Regions from separate parts of the Homo sapiens genome. Here region 1 is linked to region 2. Evidence: promoter capture Hi-C in human tissues and cell types (Jung and others, 2019). All regions are on one chromosome and are shown on one strand. The core of a region is centred on a gene start or on the middle of the fragment in contact, and the rest is flanking DNA. Distances in the headings are between cores, read along the strand shown.

The links. The method cuts DNA at HindIII sites, captures the fragments that hold promoters and counts their contacts. A contact is called where the count stands out against the background at its distance.
Region 1: a fragment that was not itself captured here is called in contact with the fragment with the promoter of CDH5 in region 2 in 2 of the 25 tissues and cell types used here (liver and thymus).

What each region holds. Positions count from the first base shown.
Region 1 is chr16:66,276,816-66,280,344 of GRCh38, forward strand. No RefSeq gene overlaps it. Among named protein-coding and RNA genes, the nearest start is that of CDH5, 88 kb to the right of the region's middle. The HindIII fragment of the contact is 3,049 bases long and covers 472-3,520 here.
Region 2 is chr16:66,364,785-66,368,249 of GRCh38, forward strand. CDH5 (cadherin 5) reads left to right here and starts at 1,907. Exons shown (of 12, transcript NM_001795.5): 1 at 1,907-1,974. LOC105371318 (a long non-coding RNA gene) reads right to left here. Exons shown (of 3, transcript XR_933687.3): 3 at 1-143. RefSeq lists enhancers at 1,800-2,349, 3,160-3,465. The HindIII fragment of the contact is 33,771 bases long and covers 1-3,465 here.

The sequences.
Region 1 (3,529 bases), core at 746-3,245, 88 kb before region 2:
ATCAAAGAGGCCCAAACTGTGACACATTATAATCAAACTGTCAAAAGACAAAGAGAAAGCCTTGAAAGTAGTAAAAGTGCTTCATCACAGACAAAGAGGCTTCTATAAGATTATCAGGAGGTTTCTCAGCAAAAACCTTTTAGCCATAAGGCAGTGGAATGATGTACTCAGAGTGCTGAAGGAAAAAAGCTATCAATCAAGAATACTAAAACTGGAAAAACTATCCTTTAAAAATGAGACAGTTTTGTTTTTTTTTTTTCTTGAATTAATGCTCAGAGTTGGTCTTTATGTAGTATTTTGCTATTTCCAAGTTTTTGAAGCACACTGAAAGCCTCTAGTTTTGCCTTTTCAAGGTGATGAAGTAGAGGCTTTCAGTATGCTTCAAAAACTTGGAAATAGCAAAATACTACATAAAGATCAACTCTGAGCTTTAATTCAAGAAAAAAAAAACCTGGGAATCCACTGGAATCATGAAGGACACCCTAAATCCTGGGGACGAGAAGGTGGGCAAACAGCCCCTGTGATTGCGTCTCAATGATGAAAGTGAGTAAAGCCCCAGTGCATGAGTGGGGCAGGGAGCCTCCTTTTGTGATTCACTTTTCCTCTGGGGAACACAGCAATCCAAGCCAAGGGAAAGCGCTTTGTTTCTCCCAAGCCCTGGAGCCAACTCAGGGAGAGGCTTGGAGATGCTGAGAGAGAAAGGTACCTGGAAAAGCTGCAGGCATTTTCCCAGACCTGGAACTGAGAGCAGGGTGCCATTTTCAATATGAGTGTATACAAAGTCAGTTACTCTTTGGCAACCTGGCAGTGTGGCTGCACAGGCATTTTAGTCTCAGGCCAGAGATTGGAGCACTTGCTCTGGACCAGGGTACAGGCCTCCATGGCCAGAACTGTGGAAAGCACCTCAACAGTAAGCATTGGAATTGTGCTTTTCTCCATTGCAGACCTGGGGAGGGAGGAGAGCTACTACAGCATGGTTTCTTCTGGGTGATGAGAACTGCAGCCAGGGCCAGCTTGGCAACCTGGAACCAGTCTGGTCTGCATGTGTCACTTCTGGGTGCCGCAGCCTGCTCCCTGGGATCATGGTGCAGTGGGGCCCTCTCTGCTCTACCTCCCGGTAGAGCGCCAGGCATTAAGAGCACCCACTTGCCTGGACCAGCAGCCTGAGCTGCCCCACCCTTCTTGGGAATGGACTGTGTGCAGTAGGACCCTCTCTTCTCCACACCCAGGCTGTTCTCTAGGCATTCAGAGCATCTGCTCCCACAGATTAGCCGCCCGAGTTACCCCATCCTTCCTGTGCAGAGATCCTGGTACCAGGAGGCCCTCTCTGCTTCACGACTGGGCAGATCTCCAGGCATTCAGAGCACTCGTTCACCTGGCTCAGCAGCCTGAGTTGCCCCACCCTTCCTATGCAGAGATTGTGGTGCAGCTTGACCCTCTATACTCCAAACCCAGTCAGATCTGCAGGCATTTGGAGCACCTGTTTATCTGGATTGGCAACCTGAGCTGCCCCACCCTTCTTGCACAAGGCCCTCTCCACTCCACACCCAGGCAGAAGAACCCCAGGCATTCAGAGCACTCAGTCACATGGACCAGCAGCCTGAACTGCCCCCACCCTTCCTGTGCAGAGATTGTGGCAGAGCAGGGCCTTCTCCCCTCCATGCCAAGGCAGATTTCCAGGCATCTGGGCACCCACTGTCCTGGATTAGAAGTGTAGGCTGCTCCCCTTCCCATACAGAGAATTGGGGCTGAGGAAGTTTCCCAGATGCATGCCTAGTCATACCTTAGGGTGCTTGGTGGGCACTCACTGGATTTTCCCTCAGCACTTGTGCTTATGCTTGCCACTTGGGGACCTGTAGATGGACCTGCCCAGTCTGACGCTCATCATCTTGGCCCCAACCTCTAGGCCTGAGCAGGGAGCTCAGGCCATTGTGCACTCCATGAATCAGCCCATTACCTGAGGCAACAGAGAGCTTCTCACAGTAAACAAGGATCAGGTATACACCTGGCTGCACTGGCCACAGCCAGCTCTTACCCATAAGCTCCATCTACTGGTTTGTAAGTCAAACCACACAGCCCAATATAAAACCTGCTAGCAGAAGTGCTTATAGTTATAGAAGCAAAGCCAAAAGACCCTACTCAACATTCTCTACAGTCACACCCCCTAGGGAGGTGGAAAAGGGAAAAGAAAAAAAAAATTGTAAGGAAAGAAAGAAAAAAGTTTTATCCACATGAAAATAACTACAAAAATTAGAAGTGCCAATGCCTCCAGATGAGAAGGAGCCAGTACTAGAATTCTGGCACCATAAAAATTCTGAATGTAGTGATATCACCATCACACTAGCTCTCCAGCAATGGTTCCTAACCAAAATGGAAACTCAGAAATGACAGATAAAGAATTTAAAGCATGGATTGCAAGGAAGCTCAATGAGATCCAAGACAGGGTTGAAAATCAACACAAATAAGCTTCTAGAACAATCCAGGAAATGAAGGAAGATTTAAATGCTTTAAAAAGAAATCAGAGGTTCTAGAATTGAAAAACTCATGTAAAGAATTTGAAAATACAGTTGAAAACTTTATCAATAGAATAGACCAAGCAGAAGAAAGAATTTCAGAGCTTGAAGACCAGTCTTTTGAATTAACTCAGCCAGACAAAAATAAGGAAAAAAGAATTTTAAAAGTCGTTGATAAATATAAGATCATGTAAAGCCATCAAATCTATAAATTACTGGCATTCCTGAGAGAGAAGGAGAAAAGTAAACAACCTGGAAAAATTATTTGAGGGAATAACTAAAGAAAATTTCCCTAGTCTTGCTAGAGAGGTGGATATCCAGTTACAAGAAATCCAAAGAACACATGTGAGATATTATACAAAACAAATATCACCAAGGCATATATCACTAGGCTGTCAAGGTCAAGGCTAAACAAAAAGTCTTAAAGGCAGCTAAAGAAAAAGGTCAGATCACATACAAAGGGATCCCCATCAGGCTAACATCAGACTTTTCAGCAGAAACCTTACAAGCCAGGAAAGATTGGGGGCCTGTTTTCAGTATTCTTAAACAAAAGAAATTTCAACCAAGAATTTCATATCCTGCCAAACTTAGCATCACAAGTGAAGGACAAATAAAATCCTTTGCAGACAAGCAAGTGCTAATGTAATTCATTACCATTAGACCAGCCTTACAAGAGATCCTTAAGAGAGTTCTAAACATGGAAACGAAATGTTTTTGTGCTACCCCAAAAATACACTTAAGTATACACCCCACAGACCCTACAAAGCAACCACACAATAGAAACTACAAAGCAACCAGCTAACAACTTCACAATAGGATCAAAACTTCACATATCAATATTAACTTTGAATGTAAATGGTCTAAATCCCCCCACTTAAAAGGCACGGAGTGAAAAGCTGGATAAAAAAAAAAAAAAAGACCCATCTGTCTACTGTCTTCAAGAGACCCACCTCACATGGAATGACACCTATAGGTTCAAAGTAAAGGATCAGAGAAAGATCTATCATACAAATGGA
Region 2 (3,465 bases), core at 657-3,156:
CTGAGCTGTTGTTTGTTCATTCCACAATCGGCTGTTGAATGTGTTGGATCCCACTCAGAATTCCGCCCCAAGGACTGTTCTCCTTCCAGCAGGTCGCTCCTCAGTCTCCAGCATCATCTGTCTTCCCGTCTGCTGGATGCTCCCTGGGGACATGAGCGTGCTGCCATAGTTAAAAAAAAAAAAAAAAAAAAAAAAAAAAAACCCTCCCACTTCTCTGCTCCCATTCACTGTAAGACTTGGGGAAGAAGCTACAGTCACACGTGACTCCACATCCCCGTCCCCCTTTCTCCCCTTTCTCTAGCCCCTCCAATCTGTCTTGTCTACCTTTTCCTGTTTAACCTGTTCTGGTCACAGTCATTGATGACCTCATCTTCCAAATCCAAAGTTAAGTCTCAGCCCTCATGCTCCCCAGGCTGACCCACTGACTACTCCCCTGCCCTCCTCCTCTGCCCTCTCCTGGCATTCCTCCTTCATCATGGGACCCTCTTCTAATGGATCCCCAAATGTCAGAGGGTCCAAGTCCTCCCTCCCTCCAAGCTCATCCATGCCCATGGCCTCAGATGCCAGCCATAAGCTGTTGGGTTCCAAACCTCGACTCCAGGCTGGACTCACCCCTGTCTCCCCCACCAGCCTGACACCTCCACCTGGGTATCTAACGAGCATCTCAAACTCAACCTGCCTGAGACAGAGGAATCACTATCCCCTCCTCCTCCAAAAATATCCTTCCATCACACTCCCCATCTTGTGCTCTGATTTACTAAACGGCCCTGGGCCCTCTCTTTCTCAGGGTCTCTGCTTGCCCAGCTATATAATAAAACAAGTTTGGGACTTCCCAACCATTCACCCATGGAAAAACAGAAGCAACTCTTCAAAGGACAGATTCCCAGGATCTGCCCTGGGAGATTCCAAATCAGTTGATCTGGGGTGAGCCCAGTCCTCTGTAGTTTTTAGAAGCTCCTCCTATGTCTCTCCTGGTCAGCAGAATCTTGGCCCCTCCCTTCCCCCCAGCCTCTTGGTTCTTCTGGGCTCTGATCCAGCCTCAGCGTCACTGTCTTCCACGCCCCTCTTTGATTCTCGTTTATGTCAAAAGCCTTGTGAGGATGAGGCTGTGATTATCCCCATTTTACAGATGAGGAAACTGTGGCTCCAGGATGACACAACTGGCCAGAGGTCACATCAGAAGCAGAGCTGGGTCACTTGACTCCACCCAATATCCCTAAATGCAAACATCCCCTACAGACCGAGGCTGGCACCTTAGAGCTGGAGTCCATGCCCGCTCTGACCAGGAGAAGCCAACCTGGTCCTCCAGAGCCAAGAGCTTCTGTCCCTTTCCCATCTCCTGAAGCCTCCCTGTCACCTTTAAAGTCCATTCCCACAAAGACATCATGGGATCACCACAGAAAATCAAGCTCTGGGGCTAGGCTGACCCCAGCTAGATTTTTGGCTCTTTTATACCCCAGCTGGGTGGACAAGCACCTTAAACCCGCTGAGCCTCAGCTTCCCGGGCTATAAAATGGGGGTGATGACACCTGCCTGTAGCATTCCAAGGAGGGTTAAATGTGATGCTGCAGCCAAGGGTCCCCACAGCCAGGCTCTTTGCAGGTGCTGGGTTCAGAGTCCCAGAGCTGAGGCCGGGAGTAGGGGTTCAAGTGGGGTGCCCCAGGCAGGGTCCAGTGCCAGCCCTCTGTGGAGACAGCCATCCGGGGCCGAGGCAGCCGCCCACCGCAGGGCCTGCCTATCTGCAGCCAGCCCAGCCCTCACAAAGGAACAATAACAGGAAACCATCCCAGGGGGAAGTGGGCCAGGGCCAGCTGGAAAACCTGAAGGGGAGGCAGCCAGGCCTCCCTCGCCAGCGGGGTGTGGCTCCCCTCCAAAGACGGTCGGCTGACAGGCTCCACAGAGCTCCACTCACGCTCAGCCCTGGACGGACAGGCAGTCCAACGGAACAGAAACATCCCTCAGCCCACAGGCACGGTGAGTGGGGGCTCCCACACTCCCCTCCACCCCAAACCCGCCACCCTGCGCCCAAGATGGGAGGGTCCTCAGCTTCCCCATCTGTAGAATGGGCATCGTCCCACTCCCATGACAGAGAGGCTCCTCGAGGGCACGCTGGGCCTCCTCGTGGCTCAGAGCAGGGTCGGGGAAGGTGCACCCAGAGGTAGTGCCAAGGGCACAAATGGGCATCTCGGGGCTGAGGGGGGCAGGGCAAGGGCTTGGCTCTCCCAGAAGTGTATTCTCCAACTCAAAAAGGCCCACTGGCCTTCATCAGTGCCAGGCTCAGAGAGGGCAGTATTCTGCCCCAGTTGCCCAGCATGCCGGGGCAGAGGACTGGCACCCAGGCCTTGGCCTCCCCTCGGTGCCTTACCCTTACTGGAGAGGATTTACCAAGGCCTGACACCAGCCTCCTCAGCCCCCTACCCATACGCCACTAAAGCTCTATGCTGGGATCTGGGGAGGGGCCCTGAAAAGGAAGCTCCGAGCCTTGGCCCCTCTCGGTCAGCCAGTGCCCCCATTTCAGGATAGGCAAGCTGAGGCTTGGCTCTGGGCACTTGAGGTCTTGCCTTTCCCTCTGGGCCTTTCCCTGCCCAAACACCATCGGGGCCCACTATGTGTCAAGGGAGCTGTAGTCTGGACAGCGGTCCACCATTCCTCCCACCAGCACCCTTTCAAAGGCTAGAGCATAAGAGCCCCAAGGCCCCCACAGCCCAGGAAGTCCCCCAGAAGCAGGAGGTCTGGGCCAAGAGCCTGGCCTGGAGACAGCTGCCCTGGGTACAGATCCCAGCTCTCCCATTTGCTCTGGGGTGACCTTGGGAAAGTTACCCAGAGTTTCCAAACCACAGTGGGGAACAAGGGATGGTGTGGGGCTCATTATTTTACCATTAACAACTCCACAAGGTAGATACATTCTTTCTTTATATCTCAGTGAAAGCAACTGAGCTTTGGAAACATATGAGCTGGTGTGGGGATTTGAACCAGGATCTCGTACTCCAAAGCCCCAGCTCTCCCCAGGTCTCAAGTGTCTCATCTGTGAAATGGGGAAACAGTGTTTCCTCAGTCAATTGAGTGAAGTGAGCTACATCCCTGGTGCTGGGAATGGCACATAACATGAGATCTTTAAGGAATAGTGGCTGGATTTACCAGCTAGCACAGAGCCGATCCTGGTTGTGAATGTGATAAAGATTTTGGCCCTTGAGGTATGGTCAAACCCCATCACGGAGGGGTCCTCAGGTGCCCAGCAGGTACGAGGAAGGGGGTGCAAGTGAGAGGACATCGCGAGCACCTCTGGGCCTCTGCTCCATGTCAGGCTCCCTCCCCAGCGTGGACGTTTCTCATGTGTGATGGGCAGATAGGATTCTGACAAGAGAGGAAGGGCATTCCCAGGGAGGCAGCTTTGAGGAGTCGAGGGTGTACCTGGAAGGCTCTTTTGCCACAGGCCACTGGAGCCAGGGCCAGAAGCCCTGGTCC